Regions from separate parts of the Homo sapiens genome. Here region 1 is linked to region 2. The links are contacts of gene promoters, found by promoter capture Hi-C in human tissues and cell types (Jung and others, 2019). All regions are on one chromosome and are shown on one strand. The core of a region is centred on a gene start or on the middle of the fragment in contact, and the rest is flanking DNA. Distances in the headings are between cores, read along the strand shown.

Region 1 (4,245 bases), core at 302-2,801, 270 kb before region 2:
TCATTTAGATAAATAATTTGATTATCCACTTTGTTTGTGAAAGGTACATTCCCCAGGGCATTGCTTTTGTAGGTACAATAAAACAAGGATAGCCAAATTCCTCTACTTGATAAATTAAAGTGCATTATGAGGAAGAGGAGAAAGGACCCAAGAAAGTATAGCAAAGAACAATATTCTATATAAAATGTGGGTAGGCATGTGGCTTCAGATAAATAAGCAGAGTTGTTACCTTTCAGTTACAGAGTATATTGTTGCTGTGATATTGCCCTGTTGCTCCCTATCAATGTCAAACCTGAAGATGTTTGCCTCAACATATCTGTGCCTTTTGGAAAGCATCAGAGTAAAAAGATCTTGAGTTCTACATCATTGATTAATGAGGAATCTGAATCTCAGTGAAGGCCAGAAAACATTATTAGGTATCTAAGATTCCAACCTGAATTTAATGCCCCAGTTCTCTTTCTACTGCATCTCATTGCAGGATAATTAGGCTTCAATGGTCACAGGAATTAGGAAAGACTCACACATTGAACATTGCCACAAATGTGAAATGCAATGAAATCATCATGCTGCTACCTCAGCACAGTAGATGACCCCTGTTTCTTCCAATATAGCAGCCTCTTTCCTGGAATTCACGTTGATTTATGACAACTTGAAAGGACATAAAAAAGGTTATAATACAAATTTGAATGCTATTAACTGGTGTTTCAAATCTAATAAATGATTTATTACTTTATCCAGTTTTTCCTTGAAATTCTGAAAGGTGAATCTCTGAGCCACAGAGATATCAAACTATCCACTGTATTTCAGTTTCCCTAGGGTATTTAACATTTCTTGTAACTGTAGTCCCTGTGGTTATATTGGCTCTGTTGTGCTGTTGCCATAGCAATTAAAGAAACACAGTAGTAAAGCAATGCAGAAAGAATGATCATCAGTATGGAGATGCTCTATGACAGAATTCAGGCATCTAGAAATATGGAAAATTCTTCAGGAAATAATTTCTCTTCATATTATTGTGGGCATTGAGGTAGCCTAGTTATCTCTATCAGAAAATCAAATTGAATAGCTGAGTCTCTGTGAACATGAAAAATGGGAGAAGAAAGGCATACCCACATACAGAAGGACAAAAAATGAATTTACTGAGGGTATAAATACCAAGAATGTGTGTGGGTGGAAAGTTCCGGCAGTACTCCTACAGAAATATTTTGACAAACTAACACCATATGGAAGATTTTATATCACTGAACGCAATGTCTCTCTCCTTCTCTCTCTCTCTCTCTCTCTCTCTCTCTGTCTCTCTCTCTCTTTCTCCTCTCTCTTTCTCTCTCTTCTGTCTTAGGAAAACGGAGCATTAAGAATATTTAGTACATTTTATTGTATTTTGGGAAGTGCACTCTGCTCTTCTACCCCTAAAGAAAAATTTAAAAAAGCTCTGCATTAATTGTGTTTCTGTGATTTGAGTTTGTGTTTCCTTCAAATCCTGCACTATGCCTGAAAATAGGATCAAGATGCAGTTTTATTCACTCATTGTAAATACAAACTGTTTAACAAAATTCTTGGCCCAGGACAGATTCTCCATAAGCAGCAGCTGCAGCAGCCGTCATTACTGCAACAGTGTAGTAAGCAAGAACAATAACAAAGTGGAAACAGCCTATTACCAATTTTAGGGTGAACAATGCTACATCAACTCAGTGAATTTTAAATCAAGCCATTGAAATGTTTATGACTCATAAAGAAGTGGAATTTAGACAAAAGTTTAGTGAAAAAACAGAATAAACTATCATATATACTTTTGTGTATGCAAATCTATACGCATATCTGTGTGCACACATATGTGCCCATGTTATGTGTTTATGAGAAAGTACTAGTTGCGTTTCTAATATCCACTTGTCCCTTCTTTAGAAGAAGAACCTAATTTTTACCCATTGCATTGCCCAGAATGTTTGTTTTGTAAATTGTGCCTTCCAATGATATTAAGCGAAAATGTTGAGAACTTCACAGCAGGCTGCTTACACGGAGATAACTGAGATGGGATCTACCACTTATCCTGTGCTGTTTGCCTTCTTTCAAATTACAGTTCGAATATAATGTGTGGAACCCTAGCACCAAACTGGGACATTAAGGTAATCTTGAAGATGAGAGTCATGAGCAAGGATGATAAGGACTCATTCCTAATTGCCTTGAATTTACTCTTCCAGCCCTGGATTGCTCTCTAACATGTTTAAACTACTACTATTTTGAAAAGTCTGTTATTTATAGCCAAACTAATTTCAATTGGTTACAGTGTGATTTTAAATCATTAAAGCATCAAATATGAATATGCTAAAATGATTAGAAAAAAACATAGCATGCATTCAAGTCTATATGTCTATAGATACTTTAGATACTTTTTGTGTGTAGCTCTTTTCTGTAAATTTTTCAAAAAGTTAAAAGTAACTTGGGTTCTTTCAATAGTAAATCATCCACATTAGTGATTAGTCATAGCCATAAAAGTTATCTACTAATTGAGAAGTTTTTGACAGGTATAGCTGTAAGCTGTAACAAAAATTACTAAAAACAAATATTATATGATGATTAAAGTGAATAAACACATTTAGCCTACATCTGTCATCTATCAGCAGGTAGGCACTGTTCATTCAGTCTCTGAAGCATTTCTTGATAGTAACTTAGATAGGAGAGATTATTATTTCAAACCAGCTAAAGAAATTCTTATTTTAAAAAAGCCATTGAGCCCACATTCCCTAACTATAAGAATGTAAAATAATAATTAAAAAAAGCTTACCAACATGGTTATTGGTTAAATATGTGGAGTAAGTACAAGTGTTGGCTAATGTCCTCAACTTTAGCTTGGGTAAAAGAGCAGGTAGAGTAATATTAATTAGAATTAGTAAAAAAAGTTGGACTGTGATAAGAGATAATAAATTAATTAGGGTAATCTATTTTTGAAGGTAACTTTCTGGTTTAAATCAGGGTGGGAGAGATGTTGAAATAAACAGGATACTGTGAGTAGAAAACCTTGGAGGATATAATGGATAGATACGGCTGCTTTGCAAACAATAAGTATGTGCTATTTGAAATTTCTTGACAGCATCCTATTGTATAAATTTGGGATTTTTTTTTTTTTAACAGATTTTTGCTCTTGTTGCCTAGGATGGAGTGCAATGGTGAAATCTCAGCTCACTACAACCTCCGCCTCCCGGGTTCAAGAAATTATCCTGACTCAGACTCCCAAATAGCTGGGATTACAGGTGCCCACCACCATGCCCAACTAATTTTTGAATTTTTTAGTAGAGATGGGGTTTCGCCATGTTGACCAGTCTGGTCTTGAACTCCTGACCTCAGGTAATCTACCTGCCTTGGCCTCCCAAGTTGCTGGGCTTATAGGCATGAGCCACTGTGCCTGGCCTAAATCTGGGAGTATGTTTTTACTGTTATTTGTTATTACACAAAATAATAATTACTTTTGATTTGATGATTATTTTTAATTTTTCAATTGGCAAAGCTATTGATGCAAGCATTTTTTTTAATGAGATAAATCTAGTATCTACTTTTGTCCCTAGGATTTTAAAAATAGAATTGGATGATTTTTAAATAAGACCCCATTTCTCATTTTTTTCTAGTTTTTAAAAGCACTTATTTCTAGCTGAGAATATCAAGGCCTAAATATTTATCAGATATGATTGGAATTTTTCAAACCTTAAAAACTGACATATGCAACCTAATATGTACTGATAATCTAGTATTTAGATGAATTATAATATACCTGGTCGGTTGTAATATAAGACAGTCATAAAAAATTTTTGAGAGTTAAAAATAATAATAAAACATGTGCTACAATGTATGTTGGCATAATTCTAAAATGTCCCTGTTATTGCTACTCCCTGGTGTATACACTTTTGTGTAATCTTATTCCATTGAGTGTAGTTAAAAGCTAAAACTTCTAATCAATATTAAATGTCAGTAAAAAAAGGCAGTTTGTATTGTATGTACAACTCCCAATTATTTGACTTTGAGTTAATAAAAAGAGAGTTATTGATATGGTTTGGCTCTGTGCACCCACTCAAATATTACCTTGAATTGTAATAATTGCCATGTGTTGTGGGATAGACCCATTGGGGGTGGATTTTCCCAGTGCTGTTTTCATGATAGTGAATAAGTCTCAAGAAACCTGATGGTTTTATAAAGGGGAGTTCCCCTGCACATGCTTTCTTGCCTGCTGCCATGTAAGACATGACTTTGCTCCTCATT
Region 2 (4,329 bases), core at 986-3,485:
CCAAGTTCCAAGAAAACTCCATTTCGAGTCAAAGTCTCCAGATGCGTAATTTACAACTACTAAAAAGATCTGGCAAGCTCCTCCACAACAAGGAAAGGAAAACAACCTGGCACCAGAGGTAGAAAAGGGTAGAAAAGATCTTTGGTTTAAATGATGGGTGGAAACCAAACACCCACTCACACTTCACAATCTGGAAAGGGTTGGGTACCAAATGGTCCGTGGCAACCACAGCCTGAAGGAAACACAGAATTTTGATCTCTGGCATCTTCAGACAGGTTCCACACGCCTAGCTCTCAAAAAATATCCTCAGGGTGGAGCACATCCATATTCTCAAAGCTTTCACTACTAGATTAAGTGCTTAGGTATAGATTTATATTTCACCTACTAGAAATCGTATTACAAAATCACAGAGCAGGCGCCCTTGGATACCCAACCCTTCCCAATGATTTTCAAAACATTAATAAGTAAAGTAGCCTGCAATGCAGATAAGACACTAGAAACAAGATCAAAAGGAAATTGGGTGAGGCGAGTAATCGTTGGTTTGTTACCTGGTGCCTCTAAGGGAAAAGACGGTCGTAGGAAGACTTTCTGCCTGCAGGTACAATCCCGGCAAGGTGGCTCCAGGTGGCTTTCACAGTCGTACGCGGGTCTCGCTCGTCACTTCGCTGCCCTTTGCCATAGCTCAGCACCCGCATCGTAGGGAATCGGAAAGGCGGCTCCTGCCACTGCCGCCGCTGCCCGCAGGTCGCTCTGGGTGGGGGAATCGCTGCAATCGCCCCATGAAACCCGCGGCTCCGCGCCCGGGGAGCGGGCAGAGGCAGGGCGGCCGCGCACGCACACACAGACACACGCTCACACTCACACACACTCGCACCCGGGCGCGCGCGCACTTGCACTCACACTCGCACACGCACACCCAGCACTGCACGGGGAGGAAGCAGCACGGAGGGAACCGGTCCTTCTCACGATTGGCTTCGAAGCCCACCGGACCGCGGGCAGCAAAGAGAGCGTTCTCGCATAGCCCTTTAATCACGTTTCCTTCAAGTTCTCCTCCAACCCGAATCCACGTAATTCAAGAGCTGGTGACATTTTGGTGGGGAGGAGGGAGCCGAGAAAGGGCTGAGGAAGAGTCGGGGATTTTGTTAAGCAGTTTAATAAGCAATCCTCATTACCTTATTTGTTTTGTTTTGTTTTGTATAGCAAACCAGTTCGAAGGGCTGAACTTTTGGCTTCAAATGCTGTGAACCAAAACGTAAATATCCTTCTGGCCAAGAGAAGAAGGTGTAGATACACGGAAACAAGAGGGCTGCAAGACACTCTCTTGACCTTGTGATGTACCTGGAAGCAGGTTAATATTGGCGCTTTCCAAGCTTCTGGGTAAAGCGATCCACACACCTGGGTCCACAGCCCAGCAGCCGCTCCAAATCCAGCCAGGAAAATGGGTCTGGGCGTCCTCAGAGCTCTGCAAGAACCCGGGCATGAAGGGGCATCGCCGAGTTAACACATTTGCTTCTGGGCAGTTGGATAAAAGACAGTCAAATGCATCAGATAGGCGCGCGCGTACACACGCGCGCGCACACACACACGCAGCTAGCTGGAAAGCGGCTTACAAAACACTAGAGACATGCCAAGATGACTTGAAAAGGTAGCCAACATCCAGGATCTTTCCGGAACACAGAAGGGCCAGCAGGGAGGTTATCAAAGTCTTCTCAAGTCTTTCAATTCTTCCTCTCTCCTCTGAGTGTGTGTGTGTCTGTCTAGGTTTCGTTGGTCTGCCCCACCCCCGTCCAGTTGCGCTTTTTTTTTCTGATATAACGGACCGTGCAAAATGGATTATATGGGTGGGCTGTGTTCACAGCCAGAGCTCCCCAAAGTCAAGGATCCTAAGGGAGCAGCCAGCTGCTAAACAATTCACATCCTCAAGGGAAGAAGGAAAAACACGCTCAAACACACGCAAACACGCGCACACACATACATAGTCCTCCGTTCGGGCAGCTCTGCACACGCTCACCGCCTCCCTGCGCGCCGCGGAACACAGCGCCCCGCCCGCTGGCCACCGCGCTGGGGCGAGTCCGCAGTTCAGGCGCGAGGCAAGCAGCCGAGGTCCGGGGCTGCGGCCGCGGCCGGGGCGGACCCGGGAGCTGGGCTTCCCAAAGCGTCGCGTGTGGGCAACGGCGGCCTCCTGGCCGCGTGGAACTGAGCCCTGCGCTGCAGCATGAAGGCGGCGGCGGCGGCGGCGGCGGGCGCGCGGCCGTGAGCTCAGCCCGCGCTGCAGTGACGGGAGCGGCCGTGTCGGCCAGACCCCGAGAGTCCGTGAGACCCCGGCCGGGGCCGCTCCGCTGCTGTCAGCCCTCGGGCCTCCCAGCCAGACTGGTTCTGAACCGATTTATCAGGGGGTTGCGGAGAGGGCCGGCGAAGCGCCAGGAAATCCCCAGGCTGAGGAGGCGCGGGGGCGTTGCAGGAAGGGGGAAGGGAAAAGGCAGAAAACCTGGAGAATGAAAGCGAACTTCCAGGGGCGTCCCCAGCCTCCTGCAAAAGGGCAATTTGCTGATCGCCCACTTCCTCGCAGTTACGGGATAGAGAGAATCATCACTGAGTCAAGCTTCGGCTGCTTAGGGCGGTGGGAAAAGTCATTATCTATAATAACCCGCCGGAAATTTTGAGGAGAGCTACTGACTTGGGGGTTTCAGTCATCTGAGGCTGGCTTCCGCTGTCCCCTTAGTTGTGGGTGGTGATTTGCTTACTAATCAGATGGGAGCGGATTCTGAAAAGAACATTTATATTTGGGAATCAACTCAGCTCAGCATCAGACATTACGAATACTGCAGTTGGTCACATTTTACTATGTGAAGGGCAGAAAGGGAGCCCAACAGTCTTCATAAGCCAGACCTAGTCTCTAAGGTCACCGGCACAGACGCAGGGTCTAAAGCAGGAAAGAGGTGCGACTGGAAAGGAGGTTAGACAGGGCCCTGCGGGAATGGATCTGCCCGGAGCCCTCGCCTGGTTTTGCTTGAGACTCCGACAAGACTCCCAATGCTTCTCTCCCCGACCCTATCCCCACTCCCTCCATCCTGGAAAAGCCAGTGAGCAAAGTTAACTCTTTCTTCTAAGAAACCCTGAGTGAAATCTTGCTCTTCCTTTCTGCTAGAGTCCTGAAACCCTTTCGCTTCTCATTGTGGGTTCACCAGCACGTGGTCTTCGGACACTGAGAGCACCTTCGCTCTCAGCTGTGATCCTAGCTAGCCCAGACACCAGTCTGTACCCAAAGGAAGAGTAGGAAGTTGCAAAGGGAAGCTGGCTAACAAGGGCTTCTTCTGCCCTACTTGGCAAAGGCCCATACGGGTGGCCTCCGTGGATATGGAGCTCCTTCATTTTGTTCCAAAAAGAGCTCTGCCAGGCTTTACCATTGCCCTGGAGGTGCACAGGCGCCCGTATACTCGAGCACAACCATGGGCTCACCCCAAGCGCGCACACCTGCACCCACGCGTAAGGAAGAACCACACAGCTATCTCTGTCGGGGAAGAACACGAGGAGTGAAGTGCTTTAGGTGGAAACTCCTCACATCTCCTTTCTTTCCTCTGCTCCCCCTCTCTGCCCCTGGTACTCCGGATCCAATCCTTGGCTTAGGAATCCACTCAAGCCACGTCTGGCTGCTTTGTTCCAGAGGAGCGCAGCTCCGAGACTGCACTTCAGCGGTGCAGCCTCCCTCCAGGTCGGCGAGCGGCGCCAGATCCGGGACTTCAGGGTCTCCGCGGGAGCTTAGGAGGCTCAGGATCTGAGTTGGAGAGCTGGAAGGCCAAACTCCGAGCCGCTGAGGGACTGCGCAGGAAGACCACAGAAATAAACCAAAGGGACACCGCGGACAGATGTACCAGAGGACACCACTGAAGTCCAGGAGAATCTCCACCAAAACCATCAGCGTTTTCCTTGTAGCTTTCTGTCCCTCGAAGTGGAAAGTTGAGGTTTCTGAGAAGTCCACGGAGAGAACCTGCAGCAAACTGAAGCCACAGACTCCGAAGGCATAGGGAGAAAAAATGCTTCCATCCCCCTTTCACTTTAAACTTGATCGCTTCTGGGACTTCACTGGAGGGCGGTGGAGTTGCACCAACCTGGAGTACAGGCAGATCCCAGCGAGCACTTCCAAGTACTTTAGGACGTGGGGGTGACTCTTTTTTCTTCAGGATTGTCCCACTTGCCACCCTTTCCAGCTGAGCTGATAGGAACCAATGAAAGTCTAGGCGATGAGGATTTTCCGTTACCTCAGGGATCAAAGTATAAAATGTTGAATGAGAAACCCGAAGACCTTGCATCGCTGGGCTGAATAACTTG

Evidence for each region. The method cuts DNA at HindIII sites, captures the fragments that hold promoters and counts their contacts. A contact is called where the count stands out against the background at its distance.
Region 1: a contact is called between a fragment that was not itself captured here and the fragment with the promoter of LRFN5 in region 2, in 2 of the 25 tissues and cell types used here (dorsolateral prefrontal cortex and mesendoderm cells).

Annotation. Positions count from the first base shown.
Region 1 is chr14:41,870,464-41,874,708 of GRCh38, reverse strand. All of the region lies in intron 2 of LRFN5 (leucine rich repeat and fibronectin type III domain containing 5), which reads right to left. Among named protein-coding and RNA genes, the nearest start is that of LRFN5, 270 kb to the right of the region's middle. The HindIII fragment of the contact is 5,997 bases long and covers 1-4,245 here.
Region 2 is chr14:41,604,782-41,609,110 of GRCh38, reverse strand. LRFN5 (leucine rich repeat and fibronectin type III domain containing 5) reads right to left here and starts at 2,235. Exons shown (of 6, transcript NM_152447.5): 1 at 549-2,235. The HindIII fragment of the contact is 3,229 bases long and covers 854-4,082 here.